Regions from separate parts of the Homo sapiens genome. Here region 2 is linked to region 1. The links are contacts of gene promoters, found by promoter capture Hi-C in human tissues and cell types (Jung and others, 2019). All regions are on one chromosome and are shown on one strand. The core of a region is centred on a gene start or on the middle of the fragment in contact, and the rest is flanking DNA. Distances in the headings are between cores, read along the strand shown. Region 1 holds the start of TST (thiosulfate sulfurtransferase). Region 2 overlaps CACNG2-DT (CACNG2 divergent transcript).

Evidence for each region. Contacts are between HindIII fragments. The study calls those that stand out against the background at their distance.
Region 2: a contact is called between a fragment that was not itself captured here and the fragment with the promoter of TST in region 1, in 1 of the 25 tissues and cell types used here (lymphoblastoid cells).

What each region holds. Positions count from the first base shown.
Region 1 is chr22:37,017,952-37,021,286 of GRCh38, forward strand. It overlaps TST (thiosulfate sulfurtransferase), which reads right to left and starts at 1,496. Exons shown (of 3, transcript NM_003312.6): 1 at 1,449-1,496; 2 at 187-802. The coding sequence starts at 781. It overlaps MPST (mercaptopyruvate sulfurtransferase), which reads left to right and starts at 1,791. Exons shown (of 3, transcript NM_021126.8): 1 at 1,791-1,921. The coding sequence starts at 1,886. RefSeq lists enhancers at 39-1,014, 1,043-1,544 and silencers at 1,018-1,077, 1,238-1,627, 1,658-1,777, 1,788-2,107. The HindIII fragment of the contact is 8,246 bases long and covers 1-3,335 here.
Region 2 is chr22:36,751,395-36,754,448 of GRCh38, forward strand. The region is part of intron 2 of CACNG2-DT (CACNG2 divergent transcript); the gene reads left to right. Among named protein-coding and RNA genes, the nearest start is that of IFT27, 23 kb to the right of the region's middle. The HindIII fragment of the contact is 5,414 bases long and covers 1-3,054 here.

The DNA.
Region 1 (3,335 bases), core at 246-2,745:
TGCATCCAAGCTGAAAAAGCCTTTAGGTTTGTCTCCACTTTCTGGTTTTATCGATGGAAAGACTGAGGCCTACATGGGAGGATTGAAGGCATGGGACGGACCCTGGAGAGGGTCCCAGTCATCCTTACTCCCTATCCTTCCATGGGGCAATACTCCCCAGGGACCACCCAGCACTGGGACACCTACCTACTGCATCCGGCTCCGGCTCGGTGCCCAGGAACCGCCCTTGAGACCTTGAATCCACCAGCTGGAACCTCTTAGATTCAAGGTTCTCCAGCACCTGCTCGTAGGTCTTGAGCAGGGAGCGGTCCAGTGTGGCTTTGAAGACGGCCGGTTCTGGGCGTGAGGGCTCGGATGTCACCGGGTGGCCCTCCTTCAGCCAGTTCCGGAAGCCACCATTGAGCACTGATACGGTGCGGTGGCCAAACACACGGAACATCCACCAGACCCGGGGAGCATAGAAGCTGCCCAGGTGTTCACCATCATACACCACCACGTGCGTGTGGTTGCTGATGCCCAGGCGGCCCACATACTCGGCGAAGCCAGCCTCGCTGGGCAGCATCATCTCGTAGGGCGACGCCGTGTCCCGGCACTCTTCTATGTCAAAGAAAGAGGCGCCGGGTACGTGGCGCTCGAGGTACTCCTTGCGGGCCTCTCGGGTGCCTGGTGAGTACCAGGACGCGTCCAGCACCCGCAGGCCGGGCCCCAGCTTGCCAGTCCTGATGGACTCCGCCAGCCACTTGGTGGAGACCAGCGCCCGGTAGAGCACCTGATGAACCATGGCTTCAGCTCTGCGTGTCACCTGGCACGGGTGGGAACCAGGAAAGAGAGACAGGCGTGAGGAAGGAAGTCGGTGTGTGCAGTAGGGTGAGGCCTGGGAGAAGCTCTTTCTCCCTCCGCACTCCCCCGGGTTCCTTGTTTACAGCAAGCCAGCGAGGCTGGGGCGTGCAGCGGGATAAGTTTGCAGATTCCCTCTGGAAAGCCGGCCCCGCCCCTCCCAGCCGGCCCGGGGGCCCAGCGCAGAAGCGGGTGGGGCAAGAGTTTCCGAGGACTCCAAGTAGGGGCGCTTCCTGGGGCGGGGATCTGGCTCCTAGAAGTTACAGTACTCGATCCCGCCAGGAAAGAGCAATGAAAGCATGCCCGGGATGGGGGGCGATGGCATCTTGGGCTTAGAATCCCCTTTCCTTCCAAGGCAGAGGGGGTGGGCGCACGGCTAGGAAGCTCCGCGAGCCGCGCACACGCCATCGCCTGCGGCCTCCCCAGGCAGCCCGAGCTCGCCCGCCTCCAGAGTGCCCGAGTCCGGCCCGTAGCTCGCTGCCCTCTGCCCTAGGTGGATCAGGGGTTCCCGGGGCACCCCGTCCCACTCTCGCAACGCTATCCTTCCCCGGGCAGCAGGTGGCCCGACCGGCGGCCCAGGCGCCCGGCCGCTGCCCCCGCCCCGCACTCACTCGCCCCGGACGCCGCGCTGGCGCTCGCCCCGGCCGGCTGGAGAAGTTGGCCGGTTCAAACCCCCGGCCGCAGCTCCCCAGGCGGCGCGCACCATCGCGCCACCGCCAGAGGGGGACCCTGCGCCGCCCGCCGCCATCCCGCGCCTCCCCCGCGCGGCCGCTTCGCGCCCGGCACCTGCCAACCTCGCGCGCGGGGCCTCCGGGACCCGCGGGGGTCTGAGGGGGACGCCGGGTGGCGCGGGGGCCGCGCGGGCCTGGGCTGGGCGGAGCGGGCGTACCCCCACGGCCCGGCCAGTGGAAGGCGCGGGCAGCAGCGGCTCCGAGTGGCCGCGGCGGTGGGCTGTGCCGGAGTCTCCTCCCTTTGGTCCGCTGCAGGTTGGTGGCGGGAGGAGGGGACAGCTGCGGGCGCGGGGAGGGGGCGCCGCGCCGCGGGGGCCATGGCGGAGCCAGGAAGCCGGGAGTCCGAGACCCGGGTAACTGCCGCGGCGTGGCGGCTTGCCTTTCTGGAGGGGGAGGGAGTGGCTCTTTGGGGGTGCTCGGCGCGGGGCTCCCGCGCGGGACCTGGGCGGAAGAGGGGGCTTAGTCTAGGAGAGAAGGCGCGCCGCTACGTTGGCACTAAGGGTGACTGTCCGCTTGGGGCGGCCTGCCGGGTGGGGTCGTGGCGAGTGGCGGGTGGGGAGCCTTGGGTGGAAGTGGGTGACCTGGTGGCACCAGAGAGGGCGGGGGAGAGAGAGGAGGACAGGGAGACGAGACCCCGCTGACCCAGAGGCCCCAGGAAGAGACACTAGCCAATAACTTGTTAGTGAGTGAAAGGAACTAACATTGTCCAGCCCTGCTTGGTGTGGCACTTTGCTGGGTACTCCCGTGGTGTGACTTAATTCCCACAATAACCCTGAGGAGTAGGCCAGAAACTTACTAAGACAGGAGAGAGCGGCAGAGCGAGTTGCTGGAGGACACACCCAGAGTTGAGGCCGGGCCTGATCCCTGGTCTGAAGCCCACGTGGTACCAGCTGCCTTTGTTTACCTGGCTCTTCCCTGAAGGTTCATGCTTTTTAAAAAATTGCCTGTTTTGAACTTAGCCCGTTTAATCATAAGTTGATGTAATTCAATTTTTAATAATAGCTGTATTTAACAACCAGTTGGCAAAATTCCTGAAAAGCTCGCCATGGGCTCTTGCAAACTGGGGGACACCATTGCCCCTCCCTAGCTTTTGCAGAGGCCAGCCTGGAAGCTTTCCCTGTTTCCCAACCCTGACCTTTTGTTTTGTTTTGTTTTTTGAGACAGGCTGTGGTTCTGTGGCCCAGACTGGAGTGCAGTGGCGCCATCTCAGCTCACTGCAACCTCCGCCTCCCAGGCTCAAGCGATCCTCCCACCTTAGCCTCCCAAGTAGGTGGGACCACAGGCATGTGCCACCATTCCCGGCTAATTTTTAAATTTTTGGTAGAGATGGGGTTTCACCATGTTGTCCAGGCTGGTCTTGAACTCCTGGGCTCAAGTGATCTGCCCATCTCAGCCTCCCAAAGTGCTGAGATTACAGGCATGAGCCACCATCCCTGGCCTCATCCCTCTTTTTAAAAAAAGGTTTTGTTCTAAAATGCTCACAGCAATCCTCAAAGCCTAGTGTCTGGTGGTTGGGGGAGGGGGTGGGCAGGAGGGACCAGGCTGGGGAGGTCCAAGAGGAGCTCCCAAGCTCTGCTCCTCAAGGGGTACCCTGGATCCAGCCTGCGGCTCACGCTTGCTTCAGTGCAGCTGTGTATCCTTCTGACATGAGCCTGGGGCGGTTACGTCCTGGGGTCCTCCACTCCCAGGGCACCCTCACCTACAGTGATCCCGGCTTCTGAATCACACAGGCACCTGGTTTCTACCCCTCCCTGACACCCACAGCCT
Region 2 (3,054 bases), core at 337-2,836, 270 kb before region 1:
GATACATATGATATATATGTTATATATGATATATATGATATATATGTTATATATGATATATATGATATGATATATATGTGATATATGATATGATATATATGTGATATATGATATGATATATATGTGATATATATATGATGTATATCACATATATATCATATATATATCATATATGTCACATATATATCATATATATCATATATATCATATATGTCATATATATCATATATATCATATATATATCATATATATCATATATATATCACATATATGATATATATCATATATATCACATATATCACATATATATGATATATATCATATATATCACATATCATATATATGATATATATATCATATATATGTGATATATATGATACATATATTTGAGACAGAGTCTCGCTCACTGTAACCTCCCCATCCTGGGTTCAAGAGATTCTCTTGCCTCAGCCTCCCGAGTAGCTGGGATTACAGCTGCCCACCATCATGCCTAGCTAATTTTTATATTTTTAGTAGAGATGGAGTTTCACCATGTTGGCCAGGCTGGTCTCGAACTCCTGACCTCAAGTGATCCGCCCACCTCAGCCTCCCAAAATGTTGAGATTACAGTCGTGAGCCACTGCACCTGGCCTAAAATCATATTTTCTGACCTGAAATAATACCCACCAGATATTGTTAAATGAAAAGAGATAAGTTCCAAATTTCATATATGGCATTATCACATTTTGTTTTTGGCTTCAAAATATGTACATATTTGTACATGTGGAGGAGAAAGGGAGGAGGTGCACATGCCTGGATGTGATGGGTGGCTATCTCTGAGTGGTAGGATTTGAATATTTTCTACTTTCTTCTTTATGCTTTTTAGTAATAGTTTCTTTTTTTTTTAAATAAACACACATTATTTCCATGCTTGTAAAAAAGCCATAGTTACTACAGATGATTTGGAAATCACCTATAAAGCACTGAACGTTTACTATATATCATGCCTTCTAAAAGTAGGTTTTATATATCTCCATCCACCCACAAAAACTGGTAAGGTTAGTGGTATTATTCCCATTTCATAAACAAGAAAATTGAGGGCCAGAGAGGATCAGTGCTTTGTCCAAGGACACACCGCTGCAATCCTAATTCCACTCGTCTGATATGAAAGCAGTGCTCTAACCTCTAAACCTTGGCTGCATCCAGAGGGTCTACAGGGGATGTCAGATGTAGCCCCTGCCCTCTAGATGGTGACCCTGTCTTTGCTCTCCTGGTCTCTTGCCCTCATTCTCTTCTCTGGTCACTCCTCTCTGCCCCCCGGAACCAGTTACATAATGGCTTCGGTGAAAATACACTTTCCCTCTCAGATCACAGGTGAAACTCGAAAGCTGCCCATTCAATATTTTCTCCTAATGAGCCTTCCTAGGCTTCTTGCCTTTTTAGAATGGAAACAAGCTCTTCGCTGCCATTCTCCTCATATTCATCAGCTCTGTTTGCTGGCAGGGCAGAAGAGTGAATGGGCATCGTATACATAAACATCATACGATCCACAGAGGGCTGGCCAGCCCGAGTTCTTAATCCTGGCTCCATCACTGACAATTTGCAACCCGGAGAAGTCACTCTCTCTGTGTTTTCTGTCTCTAAAGTAAATAAAGGATAACACACTTTAAAAATCAATTGGTGTTCTGAACAAAAAGGATGGGTGTGTGAAATGAGGACAACTCTAAGGGGCTGAAAATACATTTCCCCAAGTTTTGCAAATGCTGGAGATGGTGCAAGCCTTGTCCTACCTTACCCCTCATCCCCATCAGCTCTTGGTCTCCTTACCTCCAGGCACCTTCTCTCCCACTCCACCCTCCAATTCCTCCAGGCTGATCTTTCCAAAGCAAAAATCCAGGTGAGTCACTTCTGATAATGGCTCTCCACTCCCTTCTGGAGAAAGTCCAACTCCTCTGCTCTGGGTACAAAGAGCTCCATGTTCTTGCTTCATCCTTGTCTCTGACCTCACCTGCTGGGCACCCGTCTCTCCCCAAACCCTACAACGCACACGGTTCCCCAAGAGGGCCTCCAGCTTCATGCCTCAGGGCCTTTGCATATGCTTCCCTTTGTCTGGAATTCTCTTCCCTGGCTAACATCAGGTATTTCCCTGCAAGGTCCTGGAAACCCTTCCTAGGCAGCAGACCTGGAGCTCCTCCAGGCCACCTCCTCAGTCCTCCCTGATCTCCAATGCAGGGCAGGACCCTGGACAGAGATGAATGCTGGAATGGGAAGCACAGGTGCAAAACCAAAGGCTTCCTTCTGCATCTCCAGGATGGGCACCAATCGTCCAGTAGATGTGGCTTAGTGTAAATTTCAGTTCCCATCCTGGGATCAACTGAATCTGTGCTTCTTGCCACTCCAGCTTGGGCCAGGAAGTTTTTAGTATTCCATTTTTAAAACCACAACATTTTAGCACCAAAATGAATGCATTTTATTTATAGACATGGAAGCAGGTTGCCTCTTGCCCCCATCTCTCCTTCCAGAAGATGGTCTATCCAATGCATGTTTCCCAGATACGGAAAACTACAGGGCTCCTTTCACAGCAGAAACACCGTCCAGGGAAACCTGCCTGGCGGGCTTCTCCTACCCCATCCACATCTGAATGGATGCGGCAGGGAAGGGCCTGGGTGTCACAGAGGCAGTGCTTTGGAACTGGGCAACTGTTTCTGAACACCCACCCCAAACACGACCGGCCCCACAGTGTGTCCACCCTCCCAGTCACCTCGGCTTCCCCGCCCTCTCTGGCTGAATCAGGTGATGTCAAGAGGCAGCTCTAAAAGATGCTGCGGAATGGCCAGCCCAGAGCCATGGAAGAGGACAAGAGGCCAGGTCCCAGGCCAAACCGCTCTTACAGAAGGCAAGAATCGTGGAGGACAACAAACAGAACCTTCTTCGGAGATCCTAAAGGAGACAGAGGGGCGGTTCCTCTAACCTCCCTCAGGATTTGAAAGATCAACGCTTTTTGGGTTCCACTGGAGTTTAGAAATCAAGAGTCGGCTCCTTTTTCTCCTCTATGGATGGCAGGTGATTCTAGGG